Regions from separate parts of the Homo sapiens genome. Here all the other regions are linked to region 1. Evidence: promoter capture Hi-C in human tissues and cell types (Jung and others, 2019). All regions are on one chromosome and are shown on one strand. The core of a region is centred on a gene start or on the middle of the fragment in contact, and the rest is flanking DNA. Distances in the headings are between cores, read along the strand shown. Region 1 holds the start of CDKN1C (cyclin dependent kinase inhibitor 1C). Region 2 overlaps KCNQ1 (potassium voltage-gated channel subfamily Q member 1). Region 3 overlaps KCNQ1 (potassium voltage-gated channel subfamily Q member 1). Region 4 overlaps KCNQ1 (potassium voltage-gated channel subfamily Q member 1). Region 5 overlaps KCNQ1 (potassium voltage-gated channel subfamily Q member 1).

The links. The method cuts DNA at HindIII sites, captures the fragments that hold promoters and counts their contacts. A contact is called where the count stands out against the background at its distance.
Region 2: a contact is called between a fragment that was not itself captured here and the fragment with the promoter of CDKN1C in region 1, in 3 of the 25 tissues and cell types used here (hippocampus, lymphoblastoid cells and mesenchymal stem cells).
Region 3: a fragment that was not itself captured here is called in contact with the fragment with the promoter of CDKN1C in region 1 in 1 of the 25 tissues and cell types used here (hippocampus).
Region 4: a fragment that was not itself captured here is called in contact with the fragment with the promoter of CDKN1C in region 1 in 3 of the 25 tissues and cell types used here (hippocampus, lymphoblastoid cells and mesenchymal stem cells).
Region 5: a contact is called between a fragment that was not itself captured here and the fragment with the promoter of CDKN1C in region 1, in 2 of the 25 tissues and cell types used here (mesendoderm cells and thymus).

The regions. Positions count from the first base shown.
Region 1 is chr11:2,884,283-2,890,554 of GRCh38, reverse strand. It overlaps CDKN1C (cyclin dependent kinase inhibitor 1C), which reads left to right and starts at 4,780. Exons shown (of 4, transcript NM_001122630.2): 1 at 4,780-4,921; 2 at 5,089-5,885. The coding sequence starts at 5,099. It overlaps SLC67A1-AS (SLC67A1 antisense RNA), which reads left to right. Exons shown (of 3, transcript NR_169305.1): 3 at 1,920-3,211. RefSeq lists enhancers at 3,283-4,118, 4,119-4,954, 4,955-5,790. The HindIII fragment of the contact is 9,348 bases long and covers 2,080-6,272 here.
Region 2 is chr11:2,640,432-2,646,703 of GRCh38, reverse strand. The region is part of intron 10 of KCNQ1 (potassium voltage-gated channel subfamily Q member 1); the gene reads right to left. It overlaps KCNQ1OT1 (KCNQ1 opposite strand/antisense transcript 1), which reads left to right. Exons shown (of 1, transcript NR_002728.4): 1 at 1-6,272. Among named protein-coding and RNA genes, the nearest start is that of KCNQ1OT1, 56 kb to the left of the region's middle. The HindIII fragment of the contact is 4,799 bases long and covers 1,305-6,103 here.
Region 3 is chr11:2,655,441-2,661,712 of GRCh38, reverse strand. The region is part of intron 10 of KCNQ1 (potassium voltage-gated channel subfamily Q member 1); the gene reads right to left. It overlaps KCNQ1OT1 (KCNQ1 opposite strand/antisense transcript 1), which reads left to right. Exons shown (of 1, transcript NR_002728.4): 1 at 1-6,272. Among named protein-coding and RNA genes, the nearest start is that of KCNQ1OT1, 41 kb to the left of the region's middle. The HindIII fragment of the contact is 8,700 bases long and covers 1-5,941 here.
Region 4 is chr11:2,675,517-2,681,788 of GRCh38, reverse strand. The region is part of intron 11 of KCNQ1 (potassium voltage-gated channel subfamily Q member 1); the gene reads right to left. KCNQ1OT1 (KCNQ1 opposite strand/antisense transcript 1) reads left to right here. Exons shown (of 1, transcript NR_002728.4): 1 at 1-6,272. Among named protein-coding and RNA genes, the nearest start is that of KCNQ1OT1, 21 kb to the left of the region's middle. The HindIII fragment of the contact is 7,250 bases long and covers 1-6,199 here.
Region 5 is chr11:2,747,111-2,753,382 of GRCh38, reverse strand. The region is part of intron 11 of KCNQ1 (potassium voltage-gated channel subfamily Q member 1); the gene reads right to left. Among named protein-coding and RNA genes, the nearest start is that of KCNQ1OT1, 50 kb to the right of the region's middle. The HindIII fragment of the contact is 7,970 bases long and covers 1-6,272 here.

The DNA.
Region 1 (6,272 bases), core at 3,531-6,030:
GTCAAGCTCCTGTCCAGGGCTGGTCTGAGGACCTGCTGCTGGGTGATGTGGTTTGAGGCCAAAGGGGTGGCCTTTCCAGAGTCAGGCATCCCTGGGCAGGGTTGTACCCTGCACAGATGCCCAGCCCTGGCTCTAGGGCTTGGGGTGGGAGATGTCAGGGGAGATTCCCAGGGCCCTTGACTTCTTTCTTTTCCTGCTTTCTTGTGCCCTCACAGAAGTCCTATGGAGGGGCTCAGGCTGGGTGAAAGGCAGGGCCAACCTCAAGTCTCAGTGACCTCAGGCAGGTGGCTTAACCTCTGGGAGCCTGAGTCCCCTCCCTTGCAAAATGGGCACGAACACACCTCCCTCTCAGGGGTCTTGGAAGGATTAAATGAGGCAACGAGCCCAGCCCTGGGTTAGGGCAGGGCCCTGAGCAGGCACAAGATGAAGGCAGCAAGTGTTGTCATTGTTTATAATATCCCTCTGGTCCTCTCCACAGGGCACCACCTGGGGAGCAGCTGGGGAGGCAGCCGGGAAGGGCACAGACACCTCTTGCAGGGTCCCTGGGGTGCTGTGGGAGGGTGGTACTGCTGAGGGCAGGCTCCGGGTACCTGGAGACTCTCTAGTGGGCCCTGGAACAGCACAGATTCAGATGGTGTCCAGCCCTCACCTCCTACCCACCTTGACCCTGTGCCTGCAATCCCCAGCCCTTTGTGATTGATGGGTGATATGGGGCCCATGGCTCAATGGAACATTCTTTGAGGCCTTCGTTTGTTTGAAGACAGATAGCTCAGGGCCTCAGAACCCAGGGAACAGGCCCGAGGCAGGTTTCACCATGGGTCAGAGGGGAAAGAAGAGCTCCCGGCCTGTCCTTGGTCACTCCCTGATAGGGGCCATTGGCCCACTGGCCGGGTGTCCTGTGTCCCAGAATTTGGGTTCCCTGGGGCTCTGGGTAGGGATTGGGCCTAACCTAGGACGGGCATTCCTAGCCCTGTGAAGCCACCTGCGGCACACATTCCTGATGGGGCCATGAACATGCCGACAAGGCAGCTGTACAGCTGCCACACCCGGGAAGGGGAGGCCTCGGGCAGCCGGGGAGGCACTGGAGTGGAGGTCACCCGCCAGAAAGCACATGTGGCCAAGGACATGGCTTCCTGGGCCTACCCTCGTTCTGCTACTCATGGACCAGTGTGTTTGCCTCTGGAAGCCTCTGTCTCCTCGGCTGTAAAGCGGGCCTACGACATTGACCGACCACCCATGAGGTTGTGGTGAGGACTGGCCCATGGGTGGCCCCTGGGAAACAGCTGGCTTAACGATTCCAGCACGAAGATCCACCAGGATTGGGACCTAGGCTTCTCTGGCTTCTGGGTCTTTCCTAGAAGGAACGCACAGCAGTGAGGGCTGCAGGTTAATCCTGCCTTAACTGCTTGGGCAGCAAGTTTTTCTTTTTCTTCTTCTTCTTTCTTCTTCTTCTTCTTCTTTTTTTTTTTTAGAGGGCGTCTTGCTCTGTCGTCCAGGCTAGAGGTAGTGGCACGATCACGGCTCACTATAGCCTCAACCTCCTGGGCTCAAGCAATCCTCCCACCTCAGCCTCCCGAGTAGCTGGGACCACAGACACGTGCCACCACACCCAGCTAATTTAAAAAATATTCGTAGAGATGGGGTTTCTCTATGTTGCCCAGGCTTGTCTGGAACTCCTGGGCTCAAGCGAGCCACCTGCCTTGGTCTCCCAAAGTACTGAGGGTATATAGGTGTGAGCCATGGCTGCAGTAAGGTTTGAATCTTCTCAAGCCTTGGTTTCCTTGTCTGTAAAAGGCCAACTGAAATCTACCTATGCCTTCCCTATGTATTAGGGTATGTAACGCCCCACTGTGATGGACAAGCCTACATTTCTAGTGGGTTAAGATGCAATAAAAGTTTATTCTTTGTGCCCAACACAGGCAATGCGGTGTGCAGAGGGTGCTTGGTGGTTCTCTCCTGATGGCCCCGCAGGGTCTGCAGCCTCCATCTGGCCAGCAGAGGGCGCAGAAGGACTGCCTGGGCAGCTCGGACGTGACCGCCTGGAAGTGGTGTACAGCGTTCCTGACAACGTTCCCGGCCAAAACGGGTCCCGCCGCCCACTTGTGTGCAAGATAACTGGAAAATGTCTTTCTGTGTGCTCCGAGGAGAATGCAAAGGCTGGTGGATGTAGTGCCTTTCCTCTACTGCTCTCTCAGCTGGGGGCAAGAATGACAGGACGTGAACATGCACACAAGGGCCCGGAACTCACGACCCCCGACAGCGGTCTCCCCCGCCCCCCCAACCCCGCGCTTGCAGGATTTAGGGCACTAGCACAGCACAGTCCACCCCTTGGGACTAGCACCCCCTCCGCAGTTCTGCTCTCTGCAGCAACATAGAGTACAAATATTGTTCCTTTTGTTTCTTTTTTCCCTTTGGATACATTTTTAATTACAAAAATAGAGCTTGATTGTTGCACCTAGACAGATGTTTGCTTGCTTCTGGGCCCATTGGGCCTCCTCTCAGAGCCTGGAACTCCCAGCCCCCAGCTCCTGGGGTGCCTTCCTCCAGGTGTGTCCCTGGCTTGGGCTGGGGGGACACAGCCCCGCTCCTGGGACGTGCAGGTTTAAAATGCTATTGGGTACCATCTTTGATCGAATTCAGAGTGACAGACTTAGAGCAGGTCACCTCTCAGCTTCTAACGAGGCCAAGACGGAGGAATCCCCACAGCACTGGGTTTGACTCTGTAATTAAGCTGGTAAAGTGGAAAAATAAAAGTAGGAAACCTAAGTGGAAACCAAACCAGAAAGCCAGGCAGCCCGGGAGTTCTGAGCCCTGCTTCCTTCCAGCTGTGCGGCCTCAGCGGCTGACGCGGTCTCTGCTGCTCTTCTATAACACAGGATGATGGCAGCTACACCCTCTGAGTGGTGTCACCAAGGCCAATGAGTCCTGATGGTTGGAGTGTGGGTATCCGGGGGCCTCTAGGTCACTACCCACTCTAGCCCTTTGCTCCTAGTCTCTGGGGAGGTGGCAGCATAGGGGCATGGAGCAGACTAGACTTTGCCTCTTTCTGCCCCCAGGCCAGTTGATATGAGCCCTGCTTGAGGGGTTCGCAGGGCCTGGGGAGCCTTCTTCAGCTTCTCTTTGTTTTCCTAAGATGAAAATTGTGACATCTGGGCTTGTTGCGGGAAATTTGTAAATTGTGCACAGAGAAGAATATGAAATTGCACATAAATCATGGCTTTTGGTTCCACCATCAAGAGCCAAGAATGGCCCTGGCCCCTCTCCTGGGTTAACGCCCTGTCCCATCCAGTTCACCCCCCTCACTTCAGATCTCGCTTCCCTGAGACCCAGAAGACCCGCCCTGCTCCCCCAGCTGCAGCTGCACACTGCCACAGCATTCCATGGGGGTGGGGGTGTCTTGGGACTCAAAGGCAGGCTGGTTGGGGTTCAGGGGACCGCACCTTCCCTCCCTCCCAGAGGTCTCTCTGCTGGCTCACAGGCTCACCTGAGATAGGGGCTTAGATCTCATGGGCTGCTGGACCCTCCAACAGGTGTCTGACAGTCCCCATCCCGATCTGGGAGGCTCCTGGTTTGAGGAGGGGGCTCCCTGCCTCATGGTAGGTGGGCCAAAAGGGAGGCAGCAGGAAATAATGGTCTCTTTTGGTCTGGCCTGGCTGGGGTGAAGCACCGTGTGTGTGCGTGCGTGTGTGTGTGTGTGTGTGTGTGCGTGCGCGCACGACCGAGGTCTGTACCAGGAAGGGCTGCAGGCGGGGGAGGGGCATGGTCCTTCACAGCCCCTTCCCCTATGACCTCGGGCAGATCTTTCACTTTTACCCAGTACAACAGCTTCCAGCCAGCCTGGACAGGCAGATCCCGGGGCTGGAGTGGTCTGGCCCAAGGCTGAGAAGGGCTGGGACCCCCGACAGTGACATGATGGGCTCAGCCCCTGTTCCATCTACTGGGCAGGGTGGGCCTCCGCAGATAGCGGCTTCAGACTCCAGCTCCAGGGGGCTGGTGGGAGTCTCTCAAGGTGTCCCACACATGGTCCCTCGGGGAAAGAGTGGAGCTGACCCCTGTCCCCCCTCCCGACTCGAGGGCCTTAGGGCCAGCAGGTGTGTGAGGGCTCCAGGCGCGCGGAGCCCTCGAAGGGACACCAGCCCAGCAGCAGCAGGCCGCGCGGGGGCAGCCGAAGACCCCATCCGGCGCAGGCCAGGGCCGAGCTGGCAGCGGCGGGTCCAAGCCTCGTCAGCTGGCGCAGGAGGCCCACGGGCGAGCGCGGGACGGAGCTGGGCGCCGGGGTCCGGACCGGGCCGGGGTCGAGTTGGGCCTGGCCGGACACCGGACCCGCCAGGAGCCGGCCCCTGCCGCGCTGGGCTGAGGCCCCCGCCTGCAGACAAAGGAGCCGGCGGGGGGCGGGAGCCGGGGGGGTGGGGGAGTGTTGCAGGGGGGATGGGGCGAGGGGGCGGGCGTCGCGGTGTCACGTTACCGCCCGCAGCGCCCTTTAACTCCCGCCCCCGCCCCGCTCACCGCCCCCTTCCCCTGCTACAGCGCGCTCGCCCCGCGGCCGCCAATCAGCCGCGCGCCCCGGCCGCGCGCCCCGCCCCGCCCCCGGTGGGTGTGCGCGCGGCCAATGGGCGGTGCGCGGGGGCCGGGCCGCGGCGGGGCGGGGCAGCGGGGCGGCCGCCAATCGCCGTGGTGTTGTTGAAACTGAAAATACTACATTATGCTAATCGCGGCCGGGCCCGCGCGCACGGGGGTGGGGCCCGCGCGTATAAAGGGGGCGCAGGCGGGCTGGGCGTTCCACAGGCCAAGTGCGCTGTGCTCGAGGGGTGCCGGCCAGGCCTGAGCGAGCGAGCTAGCCAGCAGGCATCGAGGGGGCGCGGCTGCCGTCCGGACGAGACAGGCGAACCCGACGCAGAAGAGTCCACCACCGGACAGCCAGGTAGCCGCCGCGTCCCTCGCACACGCAGAGTCGGGCGGCGCGGGGTCTCCCTTGCGCCCGGCCTCCGCCCTCTCCTCCTCTCCTTTCCCCTTCTTCTCGCTGTCCTCTCCTCTCTCGCTGCCCGCGTTTGCGCAGCCCCGGGCCATGTCCGACGCGTCCCTCCGCAGCACATCCACGATGGAGCGTCTTGTCGCCCGTGGGACCTTCCCAGTACTAGTGCGCACCAGCGCCTGCCGCAGCCTCTTCGGGCCGGTGGACCACGAGGAGCTGAGCCGCGAGCTGCAGGCCCGCCTGGCCGAGCTGAACGCCGAGGACCAGAACCGCTGGGATTACGACTTCCAGCAGGACATGCCGCTGCGGGGCCCTGGACGCCTGCAGTGGACCGAAGTGGACAGCGACTCGGTGCCCGCGTTCTACCGCGAGACGGTGCAGGTGGGGCGCTGCCGCCTGCTGCTGGCGCCGCGGCCCGTCGCGGTCGCGGTGGCTGTCAGCCCGCCCCTCGAGCCGGCCGCTGAGTCCCTCGACGGCCTCGAGGAGGCGCCGGAGCAGCTGCCTAGTGTCCCGGTCCCGGCCCCGGCGTCCACCCCGCCCCCAGTCCCGGTCCTGGCTCCAGCCCCGGCCCCGGCTCCGGCTCCGGTCGCGGCTCCGGTCGCGGCTCCGGTCGCGGTCGCGGTCCTGGCCCCGGCCCCGGCCCCGGCTCCGGCTCCGGCTCCGGCCCCGGCTCCAGTCGCGGCCCCGGCCCCAGCCCCGGCCCCGGCCCCGGCCCCGGCCCCCGCCCCGGCCCCGGCCCCGGACGCGGCGCCTCAAGAGAGCGCCGAGCAGGGCGCGAACCAGGGGCAGCGCGGCCAGGAGCCTCTCGCTGACCAGCTGCACTCGGGGATTTCGGGACGTCCCGCGGCCGGCACCGCGGCCGCCAGCGCCAACGGCGCGGCGATCAAGAAGCTGTCCGGGCCTCTGATCTCCGGTGAGCCCCGCACGGCCCCGCCCCGGCCCGGCCCGGCCCCGCTTTGTCCGGCCGGCCGGTCCCCCCAGCCCTCGGGGGCCTCGCTGGGTTCCCGCCTCCTCCCGTGGCATTAAAGGGCCCGCAGCGCTCAGGGCGCGGCTGCGCCCTTACCCCCCTCCCCGCCCCGTTGTTGTGCCCTCCAGCGGCTTCGCGCGGGCGGGGTGGGAGGCTGAATCCCGGCCGCGACCCCCCGGGAGCGCAGTTTTCGCCCCCGGCCGCGGGAGCCCCTCCCCGGGCGCGGCCGGGCGCCGTGAGCACGGCGTGGAGGGGGTTAAGCGCGGCGGCGGCCCCGGGGGGCTTGGCCGCGGGACAAGGGGAAATGCTTACACAGCACATTGCGCGGCGACG
Region 2 (6,272 bases), core at 2,455-4,954, 240 kb after region 1:
TCAGTACAAAAATGAGCTGGGCGTGGTGGCCTGCACCTGAAGTTCAGCTACTCAGGAGGCTGAGATGGGAGGATCACTTGAACCTCGGAGGTGAAGGTTGCAGTGAGCAGAAATTGCACCATTGCACCCCAGCCTGGGCAACAGAGTGAGACCCTGTCTGCACTCCCCTGCCTCCCCCAAAAAATCAGTAGCATTTCTGTGAAACAGCAAATTAGCCAAAAGAGAAATGAAGAAAGCAATCCCATTTGCAATAGCTACAAAAAAAAGCAAAGCTTAACCAAGGAGGTGAAAGATTTCCACAATGAAAACTATAAAATACTGATAACAGTAATTGAAGAGGCTACAAAATTTTTTGAGACATCCCATGCTCATGGATTGAAAGAAAAATGTTAAAATGATCATATTTACCTATAGCAATATACAGATGCTATGAAATCCCTATCCAGATATCAGCAGGGGCTTCAAGATGGCTGACTAGAGGCATCTGGCACTCACCTCCTCCACAAAATATAGCAAGTAGGTAACCACAGTTTATATAGATCGCCTCTGAGAGAATGCTGGAATTCAACTGAGAAGTAATAAGAAAAACCCAATGCAAGGGATAAGAGGGGAGTCAGGCAGTCTGCTTCTATGGGACTGGCTGGGATCATGAAGAGACTCCTCGATGTGCAGAAAGGTAAGTAAGTGAGCCCCTAGTGGTCCACATTCCCACAGCAGACTCCTGAAATCCTAGTCAGAGAACCCCCTGACCCATAGATGCCTTGAGACTAACAAGAGGCTACCTACAGACTGTGAAATGGCAATGAACAGCTCCCAGAGAGGGAGATCACCCTGAATCCTCAGGCAATTCACACATCCCCTGAATCCTCAGGCAACTTCAGGAAAGTCCCATTTTGATAGCCCAACCCCCACCAGACTGCATCTGCTGTGGGCCCCACATCCCTCTATCTCATCCCTGGAGCCCCATGGACATCCCTTACACAAAGCTGGTTGCCACTCCTGACTGCTCCCTCCAGGCCAAAGCATGAGCCATTGGCAATACTCTGCTACCTCCGAAGCAAGGCTGCCATGAGGAAAGGTGACCCTGCCCATAGTCACCACCTGGGGCCGAAGCATGCATTGCCCAACTGCCTGTTTATAGCTGCTGCCACTGAAAGCAATCCCACTCAACTTCCCCAGGAGTAGGGCTGCAATAGAGTTGCTGCTGCCCCAACATGAGCATTCAGCAGGGTATACAGGGATCTTCCTGTGCCTGCCTACCACAGTCAGTACATTCTTGCATTACTGGAGGGCCTCAGGACAGGCCCACCTGGCCTGGTCCCACCCTCTTTTCTCCCAGTGCCAGCGCATACCATCTCTGGGCCTAGGGATCACCCTGCCCTATCCAGTATTGTTGGCACCTGAGCACTCCTGGGGGCTTGAGGACTGCCCTACCCAACTGACCATTACCACCACAACTGGCATTCACTTGAATTTGCCACCTGTGGGCCTTGGGACAAGCTCATCCAGCTTATCCCAGCCATCCCAATACCAGCATGGACACCTTGGGAGGCAGAAGATTGTTCTGCCACTGCTACTGCCATTGCCCAAGCCATATCTGCTGCTCAGAGCTCAAGGACCTACCCACCCTGTGGCCCAGCTCTGTCATCATTGGCACCTGAGCAAGTTGCCTGGAGGCCCAAAATTGGTTTCCCTGGACTTGCTAACACTGGTACCAGCATACACTACCATTGGGCCCAAGGATAAGCATTCGGGGCCAGCCACTGCTGCCACTGGGGCCTGAGGACTGGCCCAGCTGGTGTCCCTATCCCCAGCCAGACTTTACCACAGCCTCCACCAACAACTGCATCCTAAACTACAGAGGAACTCCCAGACACTACTGGTGCTGTTTACAGCTGAAAAAAATTCCATGGAGATCACACTACTGCAGGCACCCAGAATCAAAACCAAAGTGCCCTGCCCAAAGAACACCATAGATATATCTTCAGGAACAAGACTCTCTTAGGAAAGACAGATCAAAAAATTGGAAGAAACTACTGTTACACCAGATGTGCAGATACCAGTGTAAGCACACAAGAAACATGAAAAGGCAAAACATGACAACTCCTAAGGAATGCAATAATTCTCCAACAGATTCCAGTGAAAAAGAAATTGATGAAACCTTGAAAAATTCAATATAATATTAAAGAAGATCTGATAGACTATACAAAGAAATCAGAAAAAACAATTCGGGGTATGAATGAGAAATTTGCCCAAGAGATAGATATAAAAAGAACCAAACAGATATTCTGGAATTGAATAATAGATTGAATGAAATAAAAAACATATTTGAAAGCTTCAATAACAGACCACAACAAGCAGAAGAAAGAATTTCACACCTTGAAGATAAGTCTTTTGAAATGACTCAGACAAAAATATAGAAAAAATAGAAAAGAATGAACAAAGGCTATGTGACTATAGGATGCCATAAGGTGACACCTTCAGTGTCCCAGAAGGTGAAGAGCAAACCAAAAGATTATAAAACCTATTTAATGAAATAATACCTGAACACTTCCCAATCTCCCAAGAGATTTAGATCCAAATATAGGAATCTCAGAACCCTAAATAGATACAATTCAGAAAGGTCTTTTCCACAGCACATTATAGCAAATTGCCCATCCCAAGACAAAGAGAGAATCATAAAACCAGCGATAAAAGAGGTTGTAGACACTTACAAGGGAACAACCTGCAGACTAACAGATTTTTCAGCAGAAACTTTACAGGCCAGGAGGATGGGATTATATACGCAGAGTGCTGAAAGAAAAAACAAAACCAAAAACCTGCCAGCCAGGAATACTGTACTTAGCAAAGTTATATTCGTCAGAAATGAAGGAGAAATAAAGTATTTCCCTTAAAAGTAAAAGCTCAGGGAATTAATTGCCACTACACTGGCACTACAAAAAATGCTTAAGGGAGTCTTACAGGAAGAAGTGAAAGGACAACTTCATGAAAGCACACAAAATAATCAGAAATCAATTAATGACAGGAATAAGCCCTCACATATCAACAATAACCTTGCATATAAATAGATTAAACTTTCTACTTAAAAGACAGACTGGCTGAATGGACTTAAAAACATGACCCATCTAAATGCTATCTACAAGAAACGCATCTCACCTGTAAAGACACATAGTTGAAAGAAAGGAATGGGAAAAGATATTACATGCAAAAGGAAACAAAAACCAAACAGGAGTAGCTATACTTTCATCAGATAAAACAAAGGTTAAGCTAAAAACACTAAAAAGAGACGAAGTCATTATATAGTGACAGAGGGATCAATTGACCAAGAGGATATAACAATTCTAAACATATATGCACCCAACACCAAAGCACCCAGATATATAAGGCAAACATCAAATCTGAAGGGAAAGGTAGACTTCAACACAATAATCTTGGGAACTTCAATTCTCCATTTCCAGTATTAGACAGATCATCTAGACAAAAAATTAACAAAGAAACATTGGATTTAAACTGCACTTTATACCAAATGGACCTAACAGACATTTACAGACCAGTTCATAAAACAGCTGCAGAATATACACTCTTCTCATCAGTACATGGAACACTCTCCAGGATACATTATATGTTAGGACACTAAGTATGATTTTAAATATATATATATTTTAAATTGGATTCATATCACATATCTTCTCAGACCACAATAGCATAAAACTATAAATAAATAAGAGGAGCATTCAAAACTGTATAAATAAATGGAAATTAACATGTTCCTGAATGACCAATGGGTCAAAGAAGAAATTAAGGCAGAAATAAAAAATTTACTGAAACAAGTGAAAATAGAAGCACAACATTCTGAAACTTAAGGGATACTGCAAAAGCAATGCTAAGAGGAAAGTTTATTGTAATAAATGCCTCCATTAAAAAAGGTAGAAAAGATCTTAAATAATCTAATGATACACCTGAAGGAACCAGAAAAGCAAGAACAAACCATACTAAACATAAAATTAGTAGAAGGAAAGAAATAACGAAGATCAGAGCAGAACTAAACAAGAAACTAAATAAATATAAAGGATCAATGAAATGCAAAATCGGTTTTTGAAAAGAAACAAAATAACCAGTGGCTAAACTATCCAAGAAGAAAAGAGAGAAGACCTACATGAATAAAATCAAAAATGAAAAAGGGGATATTACAACTCATACCATGAAATACAAAAATCAAAACTCTTCAGTCTGATCAATAAATTGATTACAGTTACAGGATTTAAAAATCAGGCTTATTTCTATATACCAATAAAGAACCAGCTGAGAAAGAAATCAAGAAGGCATTATCTTTTACAACCACTACAAAAAATCTAGGAATGAGTTTAACCAAAGAGGTGAGAAACCTCTAACAAGGAAAACTACAAAAGTCTGATGAAAGAAATTGAAAAGAACACACAAAAAACATCCCATTCTCATGGATTGGGAGAATTAACAAAATTAAAATGACCATACTACCCAAAGCAATCTACAGATTCAATGCAGTCTCTCTCAAAATACCAATGCCATTTTTCATGGAAATAGAAAAAATCCTAAAATTCAGATGGAACCAAAAAAGAGCTGGAATAGCCACAGCAATTCTGAGCAAAAATAACAAAGTTGGATGCATCACACTGCCTGATTTAAAAATATAAGGCTATAGCATTAAAAGCAGCATGGTATTGGAATAAAAACTGATAGACCAATGGAACAGAGTAGAACCTGGAAGTAAATCCATGTATTTACAGCCAACTGATTTTTGACAAAGATGCCAAGAACATACACTGGGAAAAGAGCACCCTCTTCACTTAATGGAGCTGGGAAAATAAGATATCCATGTGAAAAATGAAACCGTTTCTATCTCTTGCTATACTAAAATCAACTCAAGATGGGTTAAAGACTTAAACATGAGGCATGAAACTATAACATCACTATTAATGAAGGAGACATTGGGGAAACACTTTAGGACATTGGTCTAGGGAAAGATTTTATGGATAAGACCTCAAAAACACAGACAAAAACAAAAATAGACAAATGGGACTATATTAAATGATAAAGCTTGTACACAACAAGGGAAACAATCACCAGAGTGAAGAGACAGCCTGTTGAATGGGAGAAAATATTTGCAAACTACTCATCTGACAAGGTACTAATACCAGAATATACTAGGAACTCCAATAACTCAATAGTAAACAACAAATTAATTCCAATAAAAAGTGAGCAAAAGACATGGATAGATATTTCTCAAAAGAAAACATACAAGTAGCCAACAGGTATATTTAAAAAAAAAAGCCCAACATCAGTAATTATAAGGGAAATGCAAGCCAAAACCATAGTGAGAATGGCTATTTTAAAAAGACAAAAATTAACCAATGCTGGAGAGGATGTGGAGGGAACTCTTATACACTGTTGGTGGGAATGTAAATTAATACTATAGAAAACAGTTTGATTTCTGAAAAACCTAAAAAGAGAAATATGACATAATCCAGCAATCTCACTACTGGATATTTATCTAAAGGAAAAGATATCAGTATACTAAAAATGTACCTGCATCCCCGTGTTTATTGCAGCACTATTCACAACAGCAAAGATATGGACTCAGGAACCTAAGTGTACATCAGTGGATAAATGGAAAAAGAAAATGAGGTAAATATATACAATGGAATACTAATTGACCAAAGAAGAATGAAATCATGTCCTTTGCAGCAACATGAATGGAGCTGGAGGTCATTATTTTAAGCCAGGCACAGAAAGATAATTATCTTATGTTATTATCATATGTGGGAGCTATAAAAGTTGATCTCATGGAGGTAGAGAGTAGAAGGATAGATACCAAAGGCTGTGAAAGGTATGTCTGGAGGGTGAAGAGAGGTTGGTTAGTGGGTAAAAATACACAGCTAGTTAGAATAAATAATTTATAATGTTTGATAAGAGTTGGTTGACTATATTTAACAATATAATGTATATTTCAAAATAAAAAAGAGGACTTGAAATGTTCCTAACTATAGAGATGATAAATTGAGGGTGATGGATACCCTGACTTGATCATTACACATTCGATGCATGTAACAATAGCACATGTACCCCATAAGTATTATGTATCGGTCAAAAAAAAAAAAAAAAGGAAATCCCAGTGCTTTGGGGGGCCAAGGCAGAAGGATCGCTTGAGCCCAGGAATTCAAGACCAGCCTGGGCAACAATGCACGACCCTGTCTCTACAAAAAATTAAGAAGTTATCCAGGCATGGTGGTGCA
Region 3 (6,272 bases), core at 342-2,841, 230 kb after region 1:
CCTGGGGCTGTGCTCAGGTGTCCAAGACTCTCCCCACCTCAGGTTCTGGGCCTCTTCCCATGTTCACAACTGACACTTGGGTCAAGAATAAAACAGAGGTGACAGGCACAGGCCTGGTAAGGGACAACAGCTCCCACCACCATACATTGTCACACTCATACATTGACAGAGTAGTGGGTCAGGAAAGATGGGGTGATAGGACCTCTGACCCATGAGGAATGGCAAGCCTGGGAGGTGGGGGCAGCCACAGAACTCCTTCCTCAAAACACGATGCTACATCAACCAGTTGTACCCCCAATGAGGCACAGGAGTCCCTCCAACAGCTGGCTTCACATTATGATTCCTGGGCCCACCTCTGCAACTTTGACACAGGAGCTCAGGATACTGATCCTTATCACTCCCCACTCTCTGTTGACACTATCAGTATTTGCTCTTGGCTTATATTTGTCTTCATTTAAATATTTTATTGCAAAAGGATTAAGTACTCATCTGTGAGAAGTGGAATAATTCAAAGATTCACAATGGCTTTCCTCCCCCAAGGTCATCAGTGTTAACTGCCAACTAGATCCCTAGCCCACCCTCTCTGCTCATCCGAGCAGCAGATGCCAGGTGGGAGTTGCTTTTATGCACATGGGATGTCACTGTGACTCTGTTCCTGTCACTCTGTAACATAAGCTCATTTCATTTTTCTCTAGGTATATAGGCATGGATTTAATTATTTTAGTCATTACATAATAGTCCACAGTTTAGATTGGCCACAGCTAACCATTCTGTATATCATGGACATTCAGGCTCTTATAGTTTTAAGCTGCTTAATTATTCAGACTATGATGCCATATTCATCTTTATTCTTAAAAGCTGACATACTGGAGCAGGGTGAGAGGGTGTGTCCTTAGTAATTTTAATAAATGTTGCTAGATTGCTTTCCCAAGAAGTTGTAGCAATTCAGGCTCCCCCAGCTTTCCCACATCCATGCCTGAATGAAGTGTTGAATGAAGCCCGAATGAAGGTTGTCAGCACCTTTTGCAGGGACTATCAAGCATGGATGAAAACTGAGGCATTGCTGTTATTTCCATCTGTGTTGAATACCTTTTATGGGCTTGGCATCTGTTTGGGTTTCCTCTTGCAGAATTGCCTGTTCATGTCCTTTGCTCACTTTTGCTTATCACTTTGTAGGAATTTTCTATACATTACAGACATTAACTCCTTGTTATATGAGGCATAGATAGCTTCCCCAGTCTGTTTTTTCACCTGAATTATGTTGCTTTTATCCTAGAAAATGTTTTATGTTTTTAAAGTGATACATCTTTTGCTTTATAAAAAAGGAAGGTTTTCCCACATCAGCGTAATACAATTCTCTCTTAAATTTATTCCTAATTTCACTATTTGAATGTGTTGTATGTATACATATGTATGTGTGTAAAAGTTTTAATGCATTTAGTATCTATGCCTGATAGGACAGATGATCAACAATTAGAAAATGAAAATTTAAAGGGTACTACATACAAACTTACTGAAAAAAAATCTAAAATAAAACATAAAACCATAAAATATCTTGAAGAAAACATAAGAGAAAATCTCCAGGACCTTGGATTTGGCAGTGAATTCTGAAATACGAAACCAAAAGTTTAACTCGTAAGAGAAAAAGAATCAACAAATTGGACTTTATCAAAATTAAAAGCTTTTGCTGTGCAACAGACACTGCTAATGGAATGAAAAGACAAAGCACAGACTTGGAAAGAATATTTGCATATCACCTATCAGGTCAAGGACTTGCACTCAGAATATATAAAGAATGCTTACAACTTGACAATAAAGTGAACAATCCAATTTTAAAAATGGATTATAAATAAGCACATGAAAAGATACATAATTAACATAAATATGGAAATGCAAATTAGAATCACAATGAAATTCCATAAATTAAAAAAAAAATTCAAAACCTGACAATACCAACCACTCTTGAGGATGTGGAACATGTAGAACTCTCATATGTTACTGGTGGGAATGCAAAATGGCACAGTGACTTTAGGAAATAGTTTAGCAATTTCTTATTAAGTTAAACATACACATACCACATGACCTATCGGTTCCTTTCCCACCCAAGTGAATTGAATTTTTATGTTCGCAAAAACCTGTACATAAATGTGTATAGTAACTCTGCTCATAATTACCAAATACTGGAAACAATGAAGATGTCCTTCAACAGGTGAATGCATAAACAAAATGTATATATTCATGCAATGGAATACCACCCAGCAATAAAAAGAAATTAACTAATGATTTATGCAACAACATGGATGAATCTCAAATGCATTTTGCTAAGCAGTGAAAGAAGCCAGATGCAAAAGAATACATATTATAGGATCCCATTTATAGGACATTCTAGAAAAACAAAACTACAGGGACATAAAACAGATCAATAGCTGCCAGTGGTTAGGGGAGAAGTACTTGACTTCAAAAGACTCACCCCAGGGTATTTTTAGGGGTATGGAACTTCTGTGAATGATACTGGATTGTGGACACATGACTCCAGACATCTGTCAAAACCCACAGAACTGAATCTCAAAGAGTGGATTTTACTGTATGCAAATTTAAAAAATTAACCCGGATGTTGGAGGACCCTACGATGAAAAGCAGACTATGATGAGCGTGTTACAAACAAATGACATAGCAGTGAAAGGAAAGGAGGAGGAGGAGCTGGCATATGTTGCTTTCAAAAACACTGTTTTGACTGGACACTCTATGGTTAAAGCAAAAGTCTGTCCTAAACACTCTAATCTAGTAGGTAAATTTGCTTCACATAGGGTACTACGTGTACAATAGGGTTACACAAATAAGTAAATGAACTGTAGGTAATGGGAGCCAGGTTTCTAGCTGTCAGAGAAAAAGCTATAAATAAGTTGTGGGGGAGGGGGCAAGGATGAACTCTGGTCAGAAATGTCAGTATGAACTCATGGTTAGCTTTATATAGATACAGATATGTAAAGATGTATGTGTACTCAGGTTACATACATACATATATTTCCTAGCTCTGTCCACTGAGAGGAGACTGAAGCAATGATACCCTAGTAGCCACGAGCATACCCCGTGCCTAGATCCAGGTTTTCTATTCATTCTCCAGGGAGCCAGGGCTCTCTGGATGAATGGATGATTCTAGGGCTAGGGTAGGGAAAATAAAAGATGAGCCTGAAGTATTGTCAAGTGCTAGAAAAGAAATGCTTAAAAATAAATGAAAAGGATGGCGGGGGGCACATCAAAAGGACACATGAACCCACCAGTGGCCACAGCTTGAACAATTTGAGCAACAAAATAAATAATATTGGACTATAACTCAAAAAATAAATACTCCCAAATCCACACTGATAAAATTAAATAAACAATTGGAGGAGAGGGACAAATCTTCCTTATAAAGGAATTCCAAATAAAAAATGTAGAAGGAATGAGGAAAATAGAAGTACATCACGGTAATATTTGCTGCAGGAAAACGATCCATGAATGAATGCTGAAATTAGTTAGTGAAACTCAGAAACTTCACAGTTTCTTCCTTGAAATGTATTTTAATTGCTGTGGTAGTTTTAACATATTTGCAGATTTTTTTTGATACTCTCCTGCAGGAGGTAGAGTTGAACCCCTCCCTTCCCCACCTTGAGTGTGGGCTATACTTAGTGACTCGCTTCTAAAGACTAAGCTATGGAAAGGGAAAAACAGCTATTCACTTACAGTGGAGGAGCCTGGCCGACACCACTTTAAACGAGTGGCTCAAGGTTAATATTACCAGTGATAAACCATGTTGATGTCATGTTCCACAATGAGGAAAGCATCTCACCTCACTGGCCTCCTTCCCCTAAACCTATAACCCTGGTCTAGTCCTGAGAAAACACCAGACAAATCCAAACTGAGGGACAATGACACCTGACTGGTATTCTTCAAAAGTGTCAAGTTAATGAAGAACAAGACTGAGAAGCCCGTCACCGATCAGAGATGACAATAAATGTAATGATCGATCCTAGATGGGATCTTGGAACAGAAAAAGGACATTAGTAGTTAAACTGGGGAAATCCAAATAAATTTATAACTCTAGCTTAATAGTGTACCAATGTTAATTTTTTAGTTTTGGTCAATGTACCATGGTTATATAAGATGCTAACATTAGGGGAAGCTGGTGAAAGGGATGTGGGTACTCGGTACTATTTTTGTTTCTCTTCTGTAAATAAAAAATGTGAGGTAACAAGAGAAAACAGAACCTGTATACAATAGCACAAAAGAATATTAATTATCTAACTAAGTATATGCAAGAACTCTGGAGAAAATTGTAAAACTTTAGTAAGAGACAATGAAGAAGATATAAATGGAGAAATATGCCTTCATTCCAATGACTAGAAGACTCAATACTGAAAAGATTATCTCAAAATCTGAATAAATCTCTCCAAATCTTAATAAAAATCTCAAGGCTTCTGTGTGAGAACTTTGGCAAGCTGATTCTAACTGCGACTTGGAAGTGCAAAAAGCCAAGAATTGGCAATATTCTTGAAGAAGAACAAGGTGGGAGAACTTGCTGTACCAAACATCAGTACTTCTTCCAAGGCAGTGGTCATTAGGGCAATGTGGTATTGACACAGGGAGAGACAAATAGGCCAATGGGACAGGATTGAGCATTGGGAAACAGCCCACACAAATATGGAAGCTTGCTGTGTATCAGAGGTGGCCTGCACATCCTGGGAAGAGCATGGACTTTTCAATCAAATGTTCAGGAGCAGTTGGATACCCACACTGGAAAAACATTAAGTTGGACCCTTAATTACCTCACATCATATACCAAAAATTCATTCTTGTCATTCTAGGGGATTGAAGACCTAACTATGAAAAGCATAACTATAAAGGTCACATGACTGAATATAGAAGAATATCTTAATGACATCAGCATTAGGATGGTTTTTTTTAAAAGAAGCAATAACCATGAGAGAGAAGACTGAGTAATTTGACATTAGAGTTAAGACCCAATCATCAAAATACACCTTAAAGAGTGAAAAGACAGTGCCCACAAAATGCAAAGGACTCCTACAAATCAATAGGAAAAATATAAATGACTTAATAGAAAATGGGCAATAGACAAAGTAGCACATCACAAAAGAGGAATCCAAAAGGCTGATGAGCATGTGGAAAGGTGTTGCGCCTGACTAGCAATCAGGGAAATGTAAATAAACTCAGGAGCTCATGGCCCGTGGGGGCGAGTGGCAGACTTCCAGCAGGAAACCACACAGACATTACTTAGTCACAGCCAGGAGAAGGGCTCAGAGTGAAAGGGCTCTGTGCCCATGACATCCTTAGAGAGACCAGGGAAGGACCTGTAAGGCTTGAAGAATGTGCAGATTTGGAGACCCACAGGTCTGGGACCTGGCAGAAGCATGTTACTGCCCCCATTTTAGAGATTTGGGGCTGAGATTCAAGTACCCTAGGTTATATAATGCAGTTGTCAAGTGACAGAGCTAAAACTTCATCCAGGATTCAATTTTTTTTAAAGGAAGGAAGAAAGAAAAAACATATTTTGATGTTTGCATCACTTGTATGTAGAAGGAACGATGGAGCACAGGCTAGAACGTAGAGTTGCTTTCCAAACACCCATGATGACAAGTGCCCATCTCCAAAGCCTGAGGGCCAAGGGTGAGCCACCTGACCCCTGAGGAAGGTTCTGTCCTGGTGTTTTAGGAAATTAAAATGTGCACATCAGTTGGCTGCCCAGAGTGGGTGGGACCTGCACCTGCCAGAGAGGAATGTGTGCTTTTTGGTTTAATCCTGGGAACGGCATATGGGGCCCCTATAACAAGGGGCAGAGAAGGCCTCCACAGATTTGTTTTTCCAATTCAAGAGGAGAGGTTATTGTCTGCTGGCTTGTGTGTTGGAGACTGTGGGGCGTGCTTTCTCCACCACAGGGAGGCAGTGACCAGAGCTGCCACCTCTTCCCTGTTTTCACCTGTGGTCGTAGCCAGGTCAGGCATCTAGGAGAGCATGGAGGGGAGCTGGGGGTGGGTGGGTGGGGATTCAGCTCTTTCCAGACACACTGGTGCTGCCTCTTTCAGGCCAGGGCTTGAGGGCAAGTGCTGTGCCCTAACAGGTCTTGCTTGTCACCCCCACCTCTGAAGTGGGTATTTCACAGCCTGAACTCACAGCTGCAGAGAAGGTTGAGCCCATGGTGTACTTGAAAGGGCAGTTCATCTGGATATCCAGGCTCTGCAGGAGGTACCGGAGCAATGCCAGGTGCCCTTTGCTGA
Region 4 (6,272 bases), core at 1,325-3,824, 210 kb after region 1:
CATTCTGGTCCTCCCAGGTCCCAGGGCCCCCACAGTGCCCTGGTGTGTGATCAGTGCCCACAATACTGAATAGAGGAACAGACACATGGGAAGCAACGGCAGCCTGGTCTTTAAGGGTGAGGGAGCACCTTCTCCTGAGAGAGGGAGAGATAGGTTGGGGGAGGTTGGGTGGGGGTGGGGAGAGCGAGTGAGCAAGCAAGCTAGAAACTTCCTGAAAAGGGAAGTTACTCTAGAAAAGGGTAAGTTCCTTCCAGGCATCATGGGCTGGCTTAACCTGGACCAGTTTGACTTTACTAAGTCCCATTTCTCATCTAGGGAGCCTGAGGCCATTAAGGTTATCTGGTCCCAAAATCCCCTAGAGCTGTCACAGGGATCCCCATTCTTTGCCTTTAGTCACCCCAGCCCCAAGAGCCATCCTCCACATGGAGTGAGCAGGGAGCTACAAGGAAAAGACGGTCACAGTTGGAGAGAGACAGAGAACCAGGTGGGCTGGTAGGACAGGAAGGTATAGGGAGAAAGTGAAGCTCTCTCCTGGGGAGGCAGGAATACTCTCCTGCTTCCTTCTACCCACTCTTCATAGAACACAAACACTGCAAAAATGACTTTTTCCAAACCCTCTTAGCATTCAGAAGTAGAATTGCTATGTAAGAATTTTTTCATAGGTGCTTTTTTGGGGGGCATCTATTTAAAAAATAACCACATCATTAGTGAAATCTTCCAAAGTCTCTTTTTGGAGCCCACATTTCACTAATGTCCACATCTGAGGAGGCTTTCATAATAAAAGAACACATACCTATTTCACCTATGATGGTCAGTGCAATCTTGAAAACACTAGTAAATAGTGTCCATCAGCTTTAAAAATACAAACCCAAATTGGGTCATACCAAAATGCAAGGATACACACAATAACCTGGGTGAATCTTCAGGGAATTGTGCTGAGTGAAAAGAGCCGATCCCAAAAAGGTGATTTGCTATGTGGTTCCATTTATATAATTTTCTTGGAATGATAAAGAAATGAAGAATAGGTTAGTAGTTGTCAGGGGCTAAGGACAGGGTAGGGTGGGAGGGAATTGGGGGTAGCTATAAAAGGGGGACATGAGGGATTCTTGAAGAGTTAGAAATGTCCTGTAGTGAGACTATCAATGCAATATCCTGGTCAGAATATTGTACTACAGTTTTGCAAGATGTTACTATCGGGGGAGACTAGGTAAAGGAGTATGTAAGATTTCTCTGTGTTGTTTCTTAGAACTGCATGAGAAATGTACAATTATCTCAAAATAAAAATTTATTTTAAAAAATGCCCAAATTAAAAAAAAATCAGTAGTCCTCCTAAAAATACCCAGAAATGAATTTTAGAATGTCCAAAATCCATACAAAGATCTAAAAAAATATGGAAGGATGTTGCAATGGATTTGAACATGTGGGTAAACTGCTTCTATTTGTGGCTGGAAAGACTTTTTTTTTGAGGTGGGGAAGGCAATTCTTCATCAGTTAATCTAAATTGAATGAAGTTTCAATAACAAATGCCAATGGGATATGAATATACACACAGATAGACAACTTTTTTTTTTTTTTTTTTTTTAATTAGGCAAGCTGAGGCCAGGTGCATTGGCTCACGCCCGTAATCCCAGCACTTTAGGAGGCTGAGGCGGGCAGATCACTTGAGGTCAGGAGTTTGAGACCAGCCTGGCCAACATGGTGAAACCCTGTCTCTAATAAAAAAAAAAATTAGCCAGTCATGGTGGCAGATGTCTGTAGTCCCAGCTACTAGGGAGGCTAAGGCAGGAGAATTGCTTGAACCCAGGAGGTAGAGGTTGCAGTAAGCCGAGACTGTGCCACTGCATTCCCGCCTAGGTGACAAAGTGAGACTCTGCCTCAAAAAAAATAAAAATAAAAAAAAAATTAGGCGTGCTAGTTCTAAGTTTATATGAAAAAAATGCATGTCCTATAAAATTCAGAAGTAGCAGCAGTCTGGCCCCTTGTGCTCCTCTAGCCCTCAACTGGCCTAACAGGCCCTAGTGTGCAGCAGGGACTATTTTCCCATCATCACTGTCCACAGCATCTGGACAAGAATACAGAGAACGGCTGATTTAAAAAAAATCTAATCTGGGATCCTATGCATCCTAAATAATCTTATGAGGATGCACTTGTATTTTTTCTGATGCTGATACTATTCATTCCAACTCGCCTCCCCATCAGCTTTGTCAGGCACTGTGAATTGCATGGTACACATGATTACAATGGATGGAATGGCCATCATGAGGTATAGCAATACATTTAAGTAACACTGTGTCACTACTATAGGACAGGCACTTTTCTGCATACTTTATATTATTAATTTGTGTAATCCTCCTAACAACCCTCTGAGGAAGGTACTCTTATGATTCCCATTTTACAAATAAAGAAACTGAGACTAAGTGACTCACTCAAGGTGTAGCAGGTAGAAAGTAGTGGAATTAGGATATGAGTTCAGACTCCAGACCCTGTTATTAGCCCCTGTCTTTGGCTATGGATTAGTAAAGGAGAGCACAGCCAAGGGTGGGACAGGCAGCTGTAGTCCTCTGGACCAGCTTCACATGGATGGGGCTGCATTGTTACAGGTGGCCTAACTCAGACATGGAAACTGAGTCGCTGCTGCCCAACTCATGCCATGAAACCATTTTGGCCTGCACAGCTTATAACAGCACTCTAGCTCTAGCTATGACACTTTATGGTGTTAGTGGGTTTTTTTGGTGGTTGGTATGGAGGAGGGGCTGGGCTACAAGTTTTAGATTATGTTTCTTATTGCGGGTTTTTAAAAATTCTTGAATTAGGCCTATTTGCTCTTTTGTTCTCTATTGAGTTAGCAAATTCAGTTTTTCCAAGATGCCCTGAAAGTATGATCATACATGTATACGAAATGGTCCTTGGGTCCAGCTGGCAACTCCTGTGCACCCCCGACCTGGATTCTGCCTTCCTTGAAGTGAGCCTTGGAAGAAACAAGTGCTCATGCTCCCTGACATTATTAGCTGCCACGATGAAGCCTCAGTCCCAAACACCCCAGCTTCCTGTCTAACTCAAGAGCTAATCCTGTGTTTAAATCTTAAGAGTGTTTAGATCTTAGGCCATGCCATGAATTCCCCTGGTTGACTGCATTTGTGAAAATGAGCTTCCCATTATTGGCTCTTAAGTAATGGAGATGAGGGGGAGTCCTGCTACACAGATAAGTGCATCATAAAGTTACATAATTAAAATAACTGAGCTCTGGCCTATCAACAGGCCCATCAGCAGTCCAGAATAGAGTCTAGAAATGGACACAAATTAAATGAGAGTTTGAAATATGATAAAGGTAGCAGTTGAAATTAGTAGAGAGATGATGATGTACTCAAATAAATAGTGTTGGACAACTGGACAAATATATGGGAAACCAAATTGGATTTAATTACTCTGTCAAAATCCCGATAAAGCAAGGATTTAAATGTAAAAAATGAAATAAAAAATGATAGAAGAAAACATGGAAGAATTTATTAAAACAATTTCAGGATGAGAGGTTATTTCAGAATTTAAGATAAGGACCTCAAACCATAAAAGACTGACACAGCTGACTATGTGAAATTAAAAAAATTCTGCCACCAGAAAAATATTATAGAAAAAGCCAAAACACCTAAGGAAAATGAGGATAAAATATTTTCAATGAATATGACAAAGCAAGTTTCTACAAATCAGTAAGACAAGGTATTTTACAAAGTCCAAAGGGTATGAAGAAATAGTTCACAAGAAAGAAAAACAAATGATTTTAAGCATTTGGAAAGATAAAAACCTCATTTCCAACAAAAGAAATGTAAATTAAAGCTCCAGTGTACCATTTCTCATCTATGAAATGAATGAAGATAAAAACCTGAGTATACACTTGGTAAGGGTGGGGGAAGAAAGTGCATTTGTGCAGTCAAAGTGATGTAAATGGTACAGCCCTTATTTGGCAGTATCTATCACAACATAAATGAACATTTTAATCCTGCTGGAAATGGGGGGAAAGGGAGGATCTCTTAAAGTAAATCCACTGAAAACGGAGACCAAAATTTTACAATAGAGATATTTGATTGGGAAGTTAATTTGAAAAATAACAGTAGTTAAAATATTATTTTATCTCATATGCAATAACAGTTGTTAGAGTTACAATTATGTACACGTTTTAGAAAAAAACAAATCCAGAGGGGATTTTGGTTTGTCTTTTGTAAAGCATTATATGGTAACATCTGAGGGCATCTTTTATACTTGGCAGAGGATGTTGGCAGCACTTCCACAGAGAGGATCATTTTTTGTAGAAGTATGGCATGGTTTCACTGCTTGACCAAGAGGCCACCTGCATCAATTATCATCTCCCCTGCTGTCCTCTGAAATGCTTATCTAGGCATCGATCTTGGTTTCCTCTTCAACTGATTAACTAACTGGTCTACTCTGCCCAGTCTCTATTTGAGAAATCATTTGACATCATTTTCTTTAACTTGATGAAATCTCCTATTTTGACAAGATTTACAGTTCCTCTTTATAAGTTCCTCTTTACTTTGTGTGTGCTTTATATTGTCTTTGGTTGACAAGAGACAGCCAAAGAGGTCAGTCAGCAGAGATACAAGTAGGGATAAGATGGATAGGGAGAAACAACAGTGTTCAATAGGGAGGGATGTTTCAGGGAAACTAATTTCATAAGTGGTCATTTCAGTAGTGAATATATTTGAATGGTTAATGGCTGCTGTTTTTTAGCTGCCCTACATATCCATCAACAGAGGATCTGTTCCATAAATCATGGCACAATGAAACTCTGCAGCTGTTAATGAAAAGGAGATTTGCTAGATGTCTTAATACAGATCCATCTCCAGAACATACCAGTGTCTTCCTTTTAAGTGGTGCACACTGGGGCTGAACACTTACTAAGAAATGAAAGGGCTCCCCAGTCAAAGCTGACAGGTGTCATTACAACATGACCCCTGTGGTAGATCCCAGCACAATACACTGGCCATCACTCCATTCTCTTCAAATGTCCTAGGGTTGCTTCATACAGCAGACCATCGTACCCAAAGCCACTATGCATATGACTTGGTTATCTCCTGCCAGGCTGTAGTCCAGTTAGTGCTCCCTTGGAAATACTCAAGACCTTAATGAACTATCTATCTGTGAATCTGTGAAGCTACCCATTTCTTAGAGGCCTCTTTGGAGAGCTGGCTGTTGAATACCCAGTATGATGGTCCTTAGCCTTCTTAGACCTTTCCTGTACCACTACCTCTATGCCTTTTGCCAAGTCCAAGTGTTCACCAGAAATGGAACTGATGCCAGAAAGACTACAGCTAACAATCTGAGCAGAACAGTGAGCATGTCCTATCTGGGAAAAGCCCAGCCCATTGGGCTAAATCTCTAGCTGAACACAGAGACTATGCTCCTTCCAATTATACTGGAAGCCCAACCATGAGAAAACAGCACTTCAACTACACTGTTCAGAGCCATCACCTGTTCACACGTGTGTCTGTATACATGTAAACACACATTTTGCAATAAAAATGCTTCTCAGATGTACTGCACCATAATAAATCAGCATTGTATGTACAGCTCAAAAAGAAGTATGGCATACCTATGGAAGAAGTCAAAGGCAAAGTGTAGAAAAATACATACAGTATGCTACCATTTGTATAAAAAGGAGCCGTATCTACTAAGTACATGCACACACAGACACACGTATATTTGTTTATATAAAATACGTCTGGAAAGATGCAATAGGAAAGTGTTGAGTGGTAACCTTTAGGGAAGGAAACTTGGGAATTAGGGTTGGGTGGGGAGAGTGTTATTTTTCACCCCTTTTGTACTCTGAATTGGTTTTACCATGTGTGTAAAGACTGTTGTATGATTTTTGTAGCACAACCCTTGAATACATAAAGCACGATTGGCTCCCCAGAAGGCAGGTGTTGGCCAGGCAGTGGATGCACGGTAGGGCAGTGTGCAGCCCTGCATGCACGTGGCTGGTATGCCCTGCGGGCAGCAGCTCCCCGCACACAGTGCTGTGAGTCTCTGGTTCATGTCACTCTGTGGAGCAGGGGCTGCTCCAGCACAAAGAGGTTTTTGACAGGGAAAGGCAGAGCCAGAGTCAGGGCAGGCCCTGGGCGGGCTCCTAGAGAGCCCAACCACCCTCTAATAAGGGGTGCTCTCCACCCTATCTGAGGAGCAATTGGGATCTCCTAGGAAGTGAAACTGTTACGTATGTCTTATTACAGAATTTCCAGTGGAGTGATTCTGGAAGAAATGTG
Region 5 (6,272 bases), core at 1,241-3,740, 130 kb after region 1:
ACCCTCAGGACAGCAGCTGAAGCTGGCCTCCCTCCTTCCCTGGGCAGACACGGAGGCCTCTGAACTCCCTATTTGGGCTCCAGCCTCACCCCTTCCAACCCATCCCCCTGAGTGGCGGCAGGAGGGGCTTTCCGAGGGACAGACTGAAGATCTCGTGACTCCCCCGCCTCAGATACTGTATGGCTTCCTACTGCTCATGTAATGACATCCACACTGGCCGGGTGGCCTGCCAGGCTCCTCGCAACCTGGCCCAAATGCAACAGAAACAGAGCTTGTGGCTGAGAGAGTTCTGCGTGAATGCACGTTCTCTCCTCCCCCTGGGTTGATGCATCACACATGACACTAAGCATGTGTGGTTCTTACGTCTTTGTGAGATTGTTTTCATATCAGCGACCCACAGAGGAGAACGATCCCGTGCTGGTCCTCAAGCCCAGACCAGCCAGGGCAGACCTTCCTGGCTGGCAGTGAAATTGTGCGAGGATCCTCGGGAGAGGTGGCTGAAACAGATTCAGCAAAGGGAACTCATTTTGACATAACCCAGAACCGAAAGAAAGGAACCAGTTTCCTCTGTTTCCCCAGGAGCAAGGTGCTGTAGTCTGAATGTGTGTGTCTTCCCAAAGTCCCTATGTCGAAAGCTAACCCGCAGCCCTGATGGTGTTAGGAGATGGCGCATTTGAGAGGTGATTCGGCCGTGAGGGCAGAGCCTTCAGGAAGAGGATGCGTGCCCTTGGAAAGGAGGCCTGAGGGAGCTTGTTTGCACCTTATTTTTGCCTCTTCTGCCACGTGAGGACACAGCCCGCTGACTTCCATGAATCAGACAGACCCCTTACCAGACACCAGATCTGCTGGCGCCCTGACCCTGTGCTTCCCAGTCTCCAGAACAATGAATTCCTAAGTATGAATCACCAGGTCTAAGGTATTTGGTTATAGCAGACTGAACAGATTAAGACACTAGGTATCCCATCGGACCCCCCGAGAGACCACCTGGCACACACCAGCTAAACAAGCTGCTCAATGAAACTCAGTTTAGCTTAGTCCGGATCAGCTTCATGGAAGCCACTCAACTGGGTTCAGATCAGCTCCATGGAAGCCACTCAGCTGGGTTCAGATCAGCTCCATGGAAGCCACTCAGCTGGGTTCAGATCACCTGTGAAGCTAAAATCAACCCAGTCACCTCAACTCAGTAACACTCAGCACAGTTCAGCTCAAGTCAACACAACACGATGCAACTCAAGTCAACACTACACAACACAACTCCCAAGCTCGGCTACAAACAGTCTTGTGGTGGAAACAGGGATGACCAGGGTGAGTGCTGCCTAGGACGGCCCCTCAGGGCGTGGGGAGGACAGGGCAGTACAAGGTACCCCAGAGAGGTGCCAAGGTGGCAGCGGCAACCGAGAAAGTGCAGCTTTGCAGAAGAGCATCTTTGAGGAAACGTCTTGCCGTGTGTGGGCATCCACGAGGGGCTCAGAGGAAGGTCAGCCATGCTATGGGGGGAATAGGGCAAAGCTGGCCGGGCCTCATGTTCTGCAAGTGCCATTTTGCCCTCACCCTGAGCCAGTGGGAGAGGCACTCTGTGTAGGGGACAGGGCGGCTGAACACCTTGGCTATGGGGACCAGTCCCTGGGGTCCCGATCTGCCTGCCCTTGCAGGGACACAGCGCATCTGCAGATGCTTTAATTTAAAAACCATGGTAACGCTACGCTCACCGAGGGCTTCCCTGGGACAGCCACCGCTCTCAGAACAGCCGCCTGTCAGACGAGGGTCGCCGCCCCGTTTGAAAGAGGGAGAACACACTAGTGGCCTGTTGGCCGGGATGGTGCCCACCAGCAGTGAACTCAGATGCTCATTTCGGAGCTGCACTGTCCCTCCACTGCCCTCTGCACTGAGACGCAAGTCCCCGCGTCAGGAGAGAGGGTTTCCTGGGGGTGGAACGTGGGACAGATGCTCACTTTGGGCAGCTGCTCAGCCTTGCCTCCCCTTTCCCATAGAGCCCCCTTCCGGGAGCCCACCCGCTCCTAAACGCTGGCGTCCGTTTCTGCTGAGAGCGTGGGGCTTTCTCTGCAAGTGGGGGGTGGGAGATGAGGGTTTGGATGAGGGTGTGGGAGGACCCTAAACTGATTCCCATGCTAGTTGGAGAAAGAAAGGTGTGGATGAGGATAAAGTTTTCATGGTGACCAGGGTGACCCTCCGCTCAGAGGGACGAGCGGAGCCCGGCAAAACCAGTCACTGCCTTGTAGTTCCAAGCTTTGGGGATGATCAGCTCCCAAGAAATTGCTGTGGGGTGCGGGGGCTGTGGGTGACCCAAATTGGGCAGAGGGCCTACAGGTCTGAGGCTGCCTGCACAGAGCCACCAGGAAGGAGCTAGCGAAGAAATACATCTTTGTCCTGGCTTTTTCCCAGGAGGGGCTGGGTGGGTGCACAGACAGAGGTAAAGAGCCTCGAGGTTGGGGTGTAGGCAGGCAGCTGGGGAGGACCCCGTTTAAATCCTGGGGAGATTATGAGGACGTTTGTCGCAGGCTGTCAGCCCTCATTAAGTTAATGGAACTGGCGAGTTGGCCGGCTTCCAGCATGCCGGAGAAAGAAAACAAGAAAAGTGTTTTCAGTGAAAGAGCCAGGGGATCCCATTTCGCCCAGCAGCCCAGGAGATTATGAGCCATTGGTAATGGCCTGACTGAAATGACTTATTGGGAACTGGTTGATTAAAACAAGGGAGAGAAAACCCCTAATGTCTCAGAAGAATGACATGGGCTTCTTACTGGTCTTCGTCTAGAAAAGTGATTTGTGAGCACTGCCTTCCAAAGCCTTGTGAATTGCAAAGCAACTGGTCCAGCCAGGGCCTCTGCAGAGAGGGTTACCAGGCAGGAGAGGAAAAGACGTGGGGTGAAACCGGTGGATTCCACACAGACCCTGGGAGCCAGAGAACTTGGAGCTTGGGCCAGCAGGAGCCTGGACATTCTGCTGGGAAGGCTCCCCAGGGCCCCTAAGGAAGGCCCAGCAGTTCACAGAGCAGGGCTAAAGCCTCCCATGGATTCCCCCAACTGGTTAGGCCAGGCCAGCCACAAGCCCAACAGCTATACCCCCGTCTCCCATGTCCTCCGCCCTGGGCTGAGGGCTCTGTCGTCCTGTTTCAGCCTCCGGCCCAATTCTTCCCTGGAATACATGTCATTCCTCAACTTCCCCAGAGATCCAGCCCCTGCTGCCCCTGGCGCTGACCTGGACTCTGGGCCCACAGTGCCTCACTCAGGTGGGGTTGCGCAGGTCTCTCCCCAGCTTCACCAGCAAGATGCCCCTGCACCCAGGCTCCGCTTCCTGGCCTCTTGGCTGTTCCCACTCCCTCCCTCTCACCCCATTTTCACTCATTTACACACAATTCTCAGGGCGCCGTGTAGAGCCCCTGTACTTTTTATTTTTTTTTTTTTGGAGACAGAGTCTCACTCTGTTGCCCAGGCTGGAGTGCAGTGGCATGATCTCAACTCACGGGTTCAAGTGTTTCCCCGCCTCAGCCTCCTGAGTAGCTGGGATTACAGGCGTCCACCACCACATCCAGCTAATATATATATATTTTTTGAGATGGAGTCTCGCTCTGTTGCCCAGGCTGGAGTGCAGTGGCGCAATCTTGGCTCACTGCAAGCTCTGCCTCCTGGGTTCACGCCATTCTCCTGCCTCAGCCTCCTGAGTAGCTGGGACCACAGGCGCCCGCCACCGCGCCCGGACAATTTTTTTTTTTTTTTTTTTTTTGTATTTTTAGTAGAGACAGGGTTTCGCCGTGGTCTCGATCTCCTGACCTCGTGATCCGCCCGCCTCGGCCTCCCAAAGTGCTGAGATTACAGGCGTGAGGCAGCACGCCCGGCCAAGCCTCGGTGCTTTTAAACACATGTTAACTCCTCGATCATTCCCGTTGTACGAATAAGGGAACTGGGGCCCAGAGAGGCTCAGCAGCGTGCCCAGGGTCACACAGTTGGCACCAGGCAGAGCCCTGGCCTTGGGATCCCCCATTCCCAGTGCAGACTGAGTGACACTGAGCTGCTTCCATCCTCATCTGTGCTTGCCCCCCAGCCGAGGCCCCCGACACCCCTCGATTTCTAGGTCTCCCAATCTCAACCCCAAACCCCTCCCTGCAGAGCCCTGGCAGACAGGTTCTGACACCACCCTGGAAATCATGGCATCCTCTCATCCTCCCTACTGGGGTGCTGGCGGAACAGCCCCCCATTTGGTAAAGGAGACAGACCTGAGGTCTCTGATGTTTGGCCTGGCCTGAGCCTCCTTCCTCCTGCGGCCCCATGTGTGTCAACTGTAGGGCCACCAGGTTTCAGAGTTACTTTTTATGCTATCAGTGGCAACAGGGACTTGCTGGACACAGCCACCACTCTCTTTCCTTGCTCCAGAGGCCTCGCCCCTCCCGCCATTTTGAATAGCTCACGTCAAAGGCAGCACAGCCCCAGTTAGACTCAAGGACAGGGTGACAACCGCAAAGAGGGGAAGAGGGCACTCTGGAGGTCTGGGGCTGCCCCTGCACACCCAGCTGCCAGACCAGAGGTGGGGATCTTGGCCCCCAGGGGCACCATTCACCTGGCCAGAACACAGTCTCTGTAGCTCACAGTGAGTTCAAGAAAGGCCTAGCCTGCCCCTGTCACGTGACAGATGGTCTTGAGGCCCAGAGGGAGGGGCAGCAGCAGCTGGCTGGACCCGAAGCTCTGTGATCCAGCCGGGCCTGGCGTGGGGAGTCCCTGCTGTGGGCTCTGGGTGGCCTCTGAGCCCCCACATTCCAGGCTGGCTGGGGCTCCTGCACCTGCAGTTTCATGCTGGGTCCTGGTTGCCAGGCTTGTCCCACCCGGGCCCCACACCTCCACGTGGACGCCCAGCTGGGCCCTCGGGCTCACCTGGAGGAAGAGTGGAGCCTGGTTTGGCATCAGGTGCTGAGGGCCCTGCCTGGGGAGGTACCCAGGGGCATCTGATAGGGACCCTCCCCACCAGCACACCTCACCACATCTACCCAACACACACAACCACCCTTACTGGGACAGGTGGGGCAGGCACACCTCTGGGATTCACTCTGGGAGCAGGCCCTGCGTGGACCCAGGGTGAGCTAGGGGGTGGGGGCATGCCAGCTTCACCAGCATTCCTGAGGGGAACTTGCTTCTCCCTCGCCCGAGGTCTGGGGACACAAGGAGACAGGGCTGACTGCAGAGCTGGGGGTCTGTGTAGGGGTCTTTCCTGGCCAGTTCTGGGTGTCCCAGGCCACTGAGGATAGTGCTGCACTGGCCACAAGCCCAGCCCTGGGAACCTGCCCTTTCCTAGGGTAGAGTGTGGGTGAGCCATGGTTTTCTGAAAATCAGATATTGCTTGCAGAGCCCTAGGCCCGAGTGGTCTTCTTGAAGTATTCTGCTGGTGGTGGAAGCAGCCGGTTCTGGTCTGTTTTCAAGACGGCTTGCTTCACGCCAGAGGGATTGTTTTGAAACACAGCCCTTATCGCTCCCCATCTGGTAAAGCCCGGGGAAGCTGGTTCCTGGCTCCTGAGGCTGGGCTGCCTCACCTGCCTCCAGCCAGCCTCACCCTGCGTGCCTCTTCCCACCACCTCCTTCTGATCTCTGGAACCTGCCCCCATGACCCCCACTCCCTGTGGGCAACCAGTCCTCCCTTTCCCGGCATTCTCTTGCCTTCCCACCATCCTAGCCTGTGGCCTTTCTGCAAGAAGCCTGCCCAGACGTGTCCACCCCCAAAGCCATCTTCCTTTCCTCTGGGCACCTGTGACAACAGTGAACTTATGGCCTTCAGGGAACAGGTTGTTTCTTGAGGGTCCTGTCTTTCTCATGGCCGTATTCCAGTGACTGGCACACGGTGGATGCCTAGTGAACAAGAATAGATCAGTGGGCACTGGGGCAGCCCCAGCCCAGGCCAGCAGGGACCAAGCACCGGCTGCCCCAGGGTGCAAGGCTGCACCGCTGGGCAGAGGAGCAGAAGGCTGGACGAGCCCCTCCCGGGGCCACCCCCAGGCCCCAGTCTTTCCCTCCCTCCCTCCCTAAAGGGAAGGAGAGGTTAATAAACCAATTACTTTGGGCAACGAAGCAAAATAAGTCCCATTAAAGTAATTAATGTCCTTTGCACAGTCCCCATTGGAGAAGACTAATAAATTGGGGCTTTGTCACCATCCGGTAATTTCTTTCTAAGGCGTTTCTTCATCCCCGTCCAACAGCACAGTTTAAGGCTCTGTTAATACTTTTAAGACGGGCTCAATGCCAGACTAATTAGATTTGCATTTCCACCATGGG